Regions from separate parts of the Homo sapiens genome. Here region 1 is linked to region 2. Evidence: promoter capture Hi-C in human tissues and cell types (Jung and others, 2019). All regions are on one chromosome and are shown on one strand. Each heading gives the region's core, a stretch centred on a gene start or on the middle of the fragment in contact. The rest is flanking DNA. Distances are from core to core; before and after follow the strand shown. Region 1 has its middle 8.9 kb from the start of TACR2. Region 2 holds the start of NEUROG3 (neurogenin 3).

Region 1 (2,700 bases), core at 85-2,584, 150 kb after region 2:
GCAAGCTCTGCCTCCCAGGTTCACGCCATTCTCCTGTCTCAGCCTCCCAGGTAGCTGGGACTACAGGCGCCCGCCACCACGCCCGGCTAATTTTTTGTATTTTTAGTAGAGACAGGGTTTCACCGTGTTAGCCAGGATGGTCTTGATCTCCTGACCTTGTGATCCGCCCGTCTCAGCCTCCCAAAGTGCTGGGATTACAGGCCTGAGCCACCGCGCCTGGCCTCTAGTGTCATAATCTGTGTATTACAGGCACTCCTGCACTTAGGCTACAGTCTGCATATCTCTGCAGGGGATGAGGCTGGGCCCACGTAGGAGCCAGAGTGGGAGTGGAGGGTCAGGGATGAGTAAGGCATGGTCTCCCCTGTAATGCTCAGGCCAGGATCTCCCAGGCAAGCCCCATTCTTGGCCCTACTGTGAGTAAGGGTCTCCTTTGGATGAGTCGCTGTCTCTGCAAAATGCTCACACGGAGGAAGCCCGGAGCAGGGAATGGGTGCTGGGCAGTCATCCTGGAGGCCTAAGATCCAGTTGCGGCTCCCCTAGTACTTGGCTGTCTGACCTGGAGGGAGTGCCTTTCCTGGACTTCAGTGTCCTCATCAGGGCTGGGCATCTCTGGAGGATGACGTTGTGTCTTTGCAGCTGACCACAATAGCGGGCAGGACCTACATTTCCCAGCCCTCCAGAAGAGACAAGAGGAAGCTTCTCATGTTCTCCAGAAGGGCCTTCCCAGAGCCAGCAAGGGGCAGAGAGCAAGTGCCCTGGAAGGCTTCCAGGAGGAGGTGGATTAATGAATTAGTAAATAGTGTCTGTGGCAAGACATCCCACCTTTGAGACACTGAGGAGAAACTTGCAGACACAGCAAGGCCTGGCAGCAAGAGAAGAAAGGCTGTGGGCTCTAGAGTCAGAGAAACCAGGCTTTCACTGTTGGTTCCCCCGACTGTGTGACCTTGGACATGTTATTTATTCCATCTGTGAAATGAGGATATAAACAATTCACAACAGCAAATGCTTATTTAGCCCTTTGTGTCAGGTACTGTTGTAAGCACTTTGTCTGTATTAACTAATTTAATCTCATAACAATCCCATGAGGTAGTACAAATTTTACAGGTGAGGAAAAGGAAGCACAAAGAGGTTATGCAACTTGTTCAGTCACCAGGCACGTGGCTGGTGCTCAGTAAATAGTAGCGACGCTGTAACCACAGAGATAACAATCACTGATTGCACTGAAACAGGTGAGCTTATGGGCAGAGTCAAGGGAAAGGCTGGGTGGGCCAGTGTCAAGGGAGAGAATTTCAAGAGACAGAATGTGATATCCTCCAGCAAGCATCAAGCACAAGGCATGGCTTTTTATTTGTGACCAGATCGTGATACCCCATTGTCCCTGGGGCTTCCCAAATGGGACCACCTGGGCAAGGAGGGGCAAGGGCTGTTAGAACTGGTTTATTCCCACTGGGTCCTGAAGAAGGAAGAAGTTCCCTTTCTCAGCTTCCCATGTGGCCTGGGGTGGTCATGTGACCTAGTTCTGGCCAATTAGATGTGAGGGGCATCTGCTGGGGGGAATCCTGGGGAAGGCTTTCCTCCCTGACCAAAAGAGAGAAGCCTAGAAGGAGACTTATTTTCCTTCCTGCTCCTTTCCTGGGATGAGAGTGCAGTTAGATAAAAAGATTGTTGGAGCTGTTGCAGCCCTCTTGCAGCTATGAGGGGAAGGCCAAGAAAAATCAAAGTTCCCAAAGAGCTTTTGACATCACTGAGCTGTTTCTCACAGAATCACCTATTTCCAGATGCCTGGTTATGTGAGAAAGATATTTGTTTAAGTTACTGTTACTTACAGCAAAAAGTATGCATGGTATCATATCCAAGTTGTTCCAGTGTGTTCATTCATCGGCGCACCATTCATTCATTTAATTAGAAGTTATCATTGAGCCAATCACAGTGGAGGACAGGGAGGATATGGCTGTCATCAAGGCTGTCATCAAGGCTGTCATCAAGGCTGTCATCATCATTCCTGGCTTTGTGGATTTCCTAGTATGGTAGGGAAAACACACTTTGAATACATGTGATGGATCAGGATGTTAACAAGAAAAAAAGCACAGGAATGCTATTAGAATGTAGAACAAAAATAGTTAACCTGTGGAAGCATCAAAGAAGTTCTTGAAGGCTAGTGTTTATTTAGAGTTACATGCCATCATAAAGGGTCCCCAAGATGTAAAATGCAGTGCCTCAAACAAGAGAGAAGTTTGTTTTGTTTTGTTTCCTTTATTATTTTTTTTTTCTAGACGGAGTTTCGAAAAACAGGCAAGACAGGGTCTCCCTGTGTTGCCCAGGCTGGAGTGCAATCTCAGCTCACTGCAACCACCACCTCCCGGGTTCAAGTGATTCTCCTGCCTGAGTCTCCCAAGTAGCTGGGATTACAGGTGCCCACCACCACGCCTGGCTAATTTTTTGTATTGTTATTAGAGATGGGATTTCTCCATGTTGGTCAGGCTGGTCTTGAACCCCCGACCTCAGGTGATCCACCTGCCTCGGCCTCCCAAAATTCTGGGATTACAGGTATGAGCCACCATGCCCAACCTGTTTCCTTTTTCTTTTTCACATAAGAGCCCTGAGACCTCCCCAGGCTCTGCCATCCTCAATATGGCTTCCCTCTGTGGATTCAAGATGGAAGTCCCTGTTGTTGCCACTGCCCTCCAGTAGGAAGTGGGG
Region 2 (2,700 bases), core at 91-2,590:
CGAGTGATGCAGAGGCAGGGGGCTGGAGCAGGTGACTGCTGGCAGCTGCTGTCTGTCTGTGATTGGACCGGAGGACTAAGGGGAGAAAAAGTTTATCAGCTTCTCCCAGTGCCTGCACGCTGTGGTAGTTCAAAAGACACGAGGGGGAGGGGCACAGCAGCTCTGCTTCCCAGCGCCTTGGGAGACTGAAGTGAAAGGAACGCTTGAGCCCAGGAGTTCGAGACCATCCTGGGCAACAAAGCAAGACCGCCCCTCACCCCATACAAAATAAAAATACAAATAAATTAGCCGGGCACAGTGGCGCATGCCTGTAGTCTCAGCTACTGGGAAGGCTGAAGTGGGAGGATAGCTTGAGCCCAGGAGATCAAGGCTGCAGTGAGCTGTGATTGCACCACTGCAGTCCAGCCTGGGCGACAGAAGGAGACCGTTTTTTGGTTTTGTTTGTTCGTTTAAAAAAAAAAAGAAGCAAGAGCTCACTGTGAACTCCTGGTTCCTTCCTCCCCTCCTCACACTTCCCAGAACTCTTCCTGTCACGGTTCCTGGCCAGAACGCTGGGATACTATCTACAAGCTGTAGTAGGCTTGTAGTAATGGAATGTCCGCTTGAGGGGTCCCCGCACAGCCAACCCCTGCCTCTGGAGTGGGATCTATGGGGGTGGGGTTCTAAGCGCCTCTGGGGAGTGTGAGGTAGCATCTCAGGGTGTGGCAGAGGCTCGGACACCCCCAAAAGGTCTGCGAATGGAAGGGACATAGGCAGGATCTCTCTCAGTGATGTCCCCTGTCTTCCAGGATGAAGAGAGGCAGTGAAACACCAGGAGAGCAGGGCGTCCTTTAGAATTCCTGGACCCTTCTCCAGGCTGCTAGTCAGGACAATGAGCTCGTGGTTGTCTTTGCCACTATCTTCCTGTGCGATTTCAGACAAGCCACCTCCCTCACTAAGCCTAAATTTCCCCATGTGTAACGTGCAGGCATTGTACCCTAGAGGCATCAAAGTCCCCTCCAGGACAGATGCTAAGGAAAGATAGGCTAGGAGCAAAGCCGTCTGAGGTGGCCTGACCAGAGCCACACGAGGCTCTTCTCACTGGGCGAGGCTCTTTGAGGAACCGAGAGTTGCTGGGACCCAGCCCGCCCTCGAGAGAGCAAACAGAGCGGCGCTCCCCTCCCCCGACCCCGGCCCTTTGTCCGGAATCCAGCTGTGCCCTGCGGGGGAGGAGCGGGCTCGCGTGGCGCGGCCCCAGGGCCCCGGCGCTGATTGGCCGGTGGCGCGGGCAGCAGCCGGGCAGGCACGCTCCTGGCCCGGGCGAAGCAGATAAAGCGTGCCAAGGGGCACACGACTTGCTGCTCAGGAAATCCCTGCGGTCTCACCGCCGCGCCTCGAGAGAGAGCGTGACAGAGGCCTCGGACCCCATTCTCTCTTCTTTTCTCCTTTGGGGCTGGGGCAACTCCCAGGCGGGGGCGCCTGCAGCTCAGCTGAACTTGGCGACCAGAAGCCCGCTGAGCTCCCCACGGCCCTCGCTGCTCATCGCTCTCTATTCTTTTGCGCCGGTAGAAAGGTAATATTTGGAGGCCTCCGAGGGACGGGCAGGGGAAAGAGGGATCCTCTGACCCAGCGGGGGCTGGGAGGATGGCTGTTTTTGTTTTTTCCCACCTAGCCTCGGAATCGCGGACTGCGCCCAGTGACGGACTCAAACTTACCCTTCCCTCTGACCCCGCCGTAGGATGACGCCTCAACCCTCGGGTGCGCCCACTGTCCAAGTGACCCGTGAGACGGAGCGGTCCTTCCCCAGAGCCTCGGAAGACGAAGTGACCTGCCCCACGTCCGCCCCGCCCAGCCCCACTCGCACACGGGGGAACTGCGCAGAGGCGGAAGAGGGAGGCTGCCGAGGGGCCCCGAGGAAGCTCCGGGCACGGCGCGGGGGACGCAGCCGGCCTAAGAGCGAGTTGGCACTGAGCAAGCAGCGACGGAGTCGGCGAAAGAAGGCCAACGACCGCGAGCGCAATCGAATGCACAACCTCAACTCGGCACTGGACGCCCTGCGCGGTGTCCTGCCCACCTTCCCAGACGACGCGAAGCTCACCAAGATCGAGACGCTGCGCTTCGCCCACAACTACATCTGGGCGCTGACTCAAACGCTGCGCATAGCGGACCACAGCTTGTACGCGCTGGAGCCGCCGGCGCCGCACTGCGGGGAGCTGGGCAGCCCAGGCGGTTCCCCCGGGGACTGGGGGTCCCTCTACTCCCCAGTCTCCCAGGCTGGCAGCCTGAGTCCCGCCGCGTCGCTGGAGGAGCGACCCGGGCTGCTGGGGGCCACCTTTTCCGCCTGCTTGAGCCCAGGCAGTCTGGCTTTCTCAGATTTTCTGTGAAAGGACCTGTCTGTCGCTGGGCTGTGGGTGCTAAGGGTAAGGGAGAGGGAGGGAGCCGGGAGCCGTAGAGGGTGGCCGACGGCGGCGGCCCTCAAAAGCACTTGTTCCTTCTGCTTCTCCCTGGCTGACCCCTGGCCGGCCCAGGCCTCCACGGGGGCGGCAGGCTGGGTTCATTCCCCGGCCCTCCGAGCCGCGCCAACGCACGCAACCCTTGCTGCTGCCCGCGCGAAGTGGGCATTGCAAAGTGCGCTCATTTTAGGCCTCCTCTCTGCCACCACCCCATAATCTCATTCAAAGAATACTAGAATGGTAGCACTACCCGGCCGGAGCCGCCCAC

The links. The method cuts DNA at HindIII sites, captures the fragments that hold promoters and counts their contacts. A contact is called where the count stands out against the background at its distance.
Region 1: a fragment that was not itself captured here is called in contact with the fragment with the promoter of NEUROG3 in region 2 in 2 of the 25 tissues and cell types used here (mesendoderm cells and pancreas).

What each region holds. Positions count from the first base shown.
Region 1 is chr10:69,424,499-69,427,198 of GRCh38, reverse strand. No RefSeq gene overlaps it. Among named protein-coding and RNA genes, the nearest start is that of TACR2, 8.9 kb to the right of the region's middle. The HindIII fragment of the contact is 7,667 bases long and covers 1-2,700 here.
Region 2 is chr10:69,572,062-69,574,761 of GRCh38, reverse strand. It overlaps NEUROG3 (neurogenin 3), which reads left to right and starts at 1,340. Exons shown (of 2, transcript NM_020999.4): 1 at 1,340-1,552; 2 at 1,718-2,700. The coding sequence starts at 1,719. The coding sequence ends at 2,363. LOC101929021 (a long non-coding RNA gene) reads right to left here and starts at 1,805. Exons shown (of 4, transcript XR_946037.2): 1 at 1,695-1,805. RefSeq lists a silencer at 1,070-1,289 and an enhancer at 2,547-2,700. The HindIII fragment of the contact is 13,443 bases long and covers 1-2,700 here.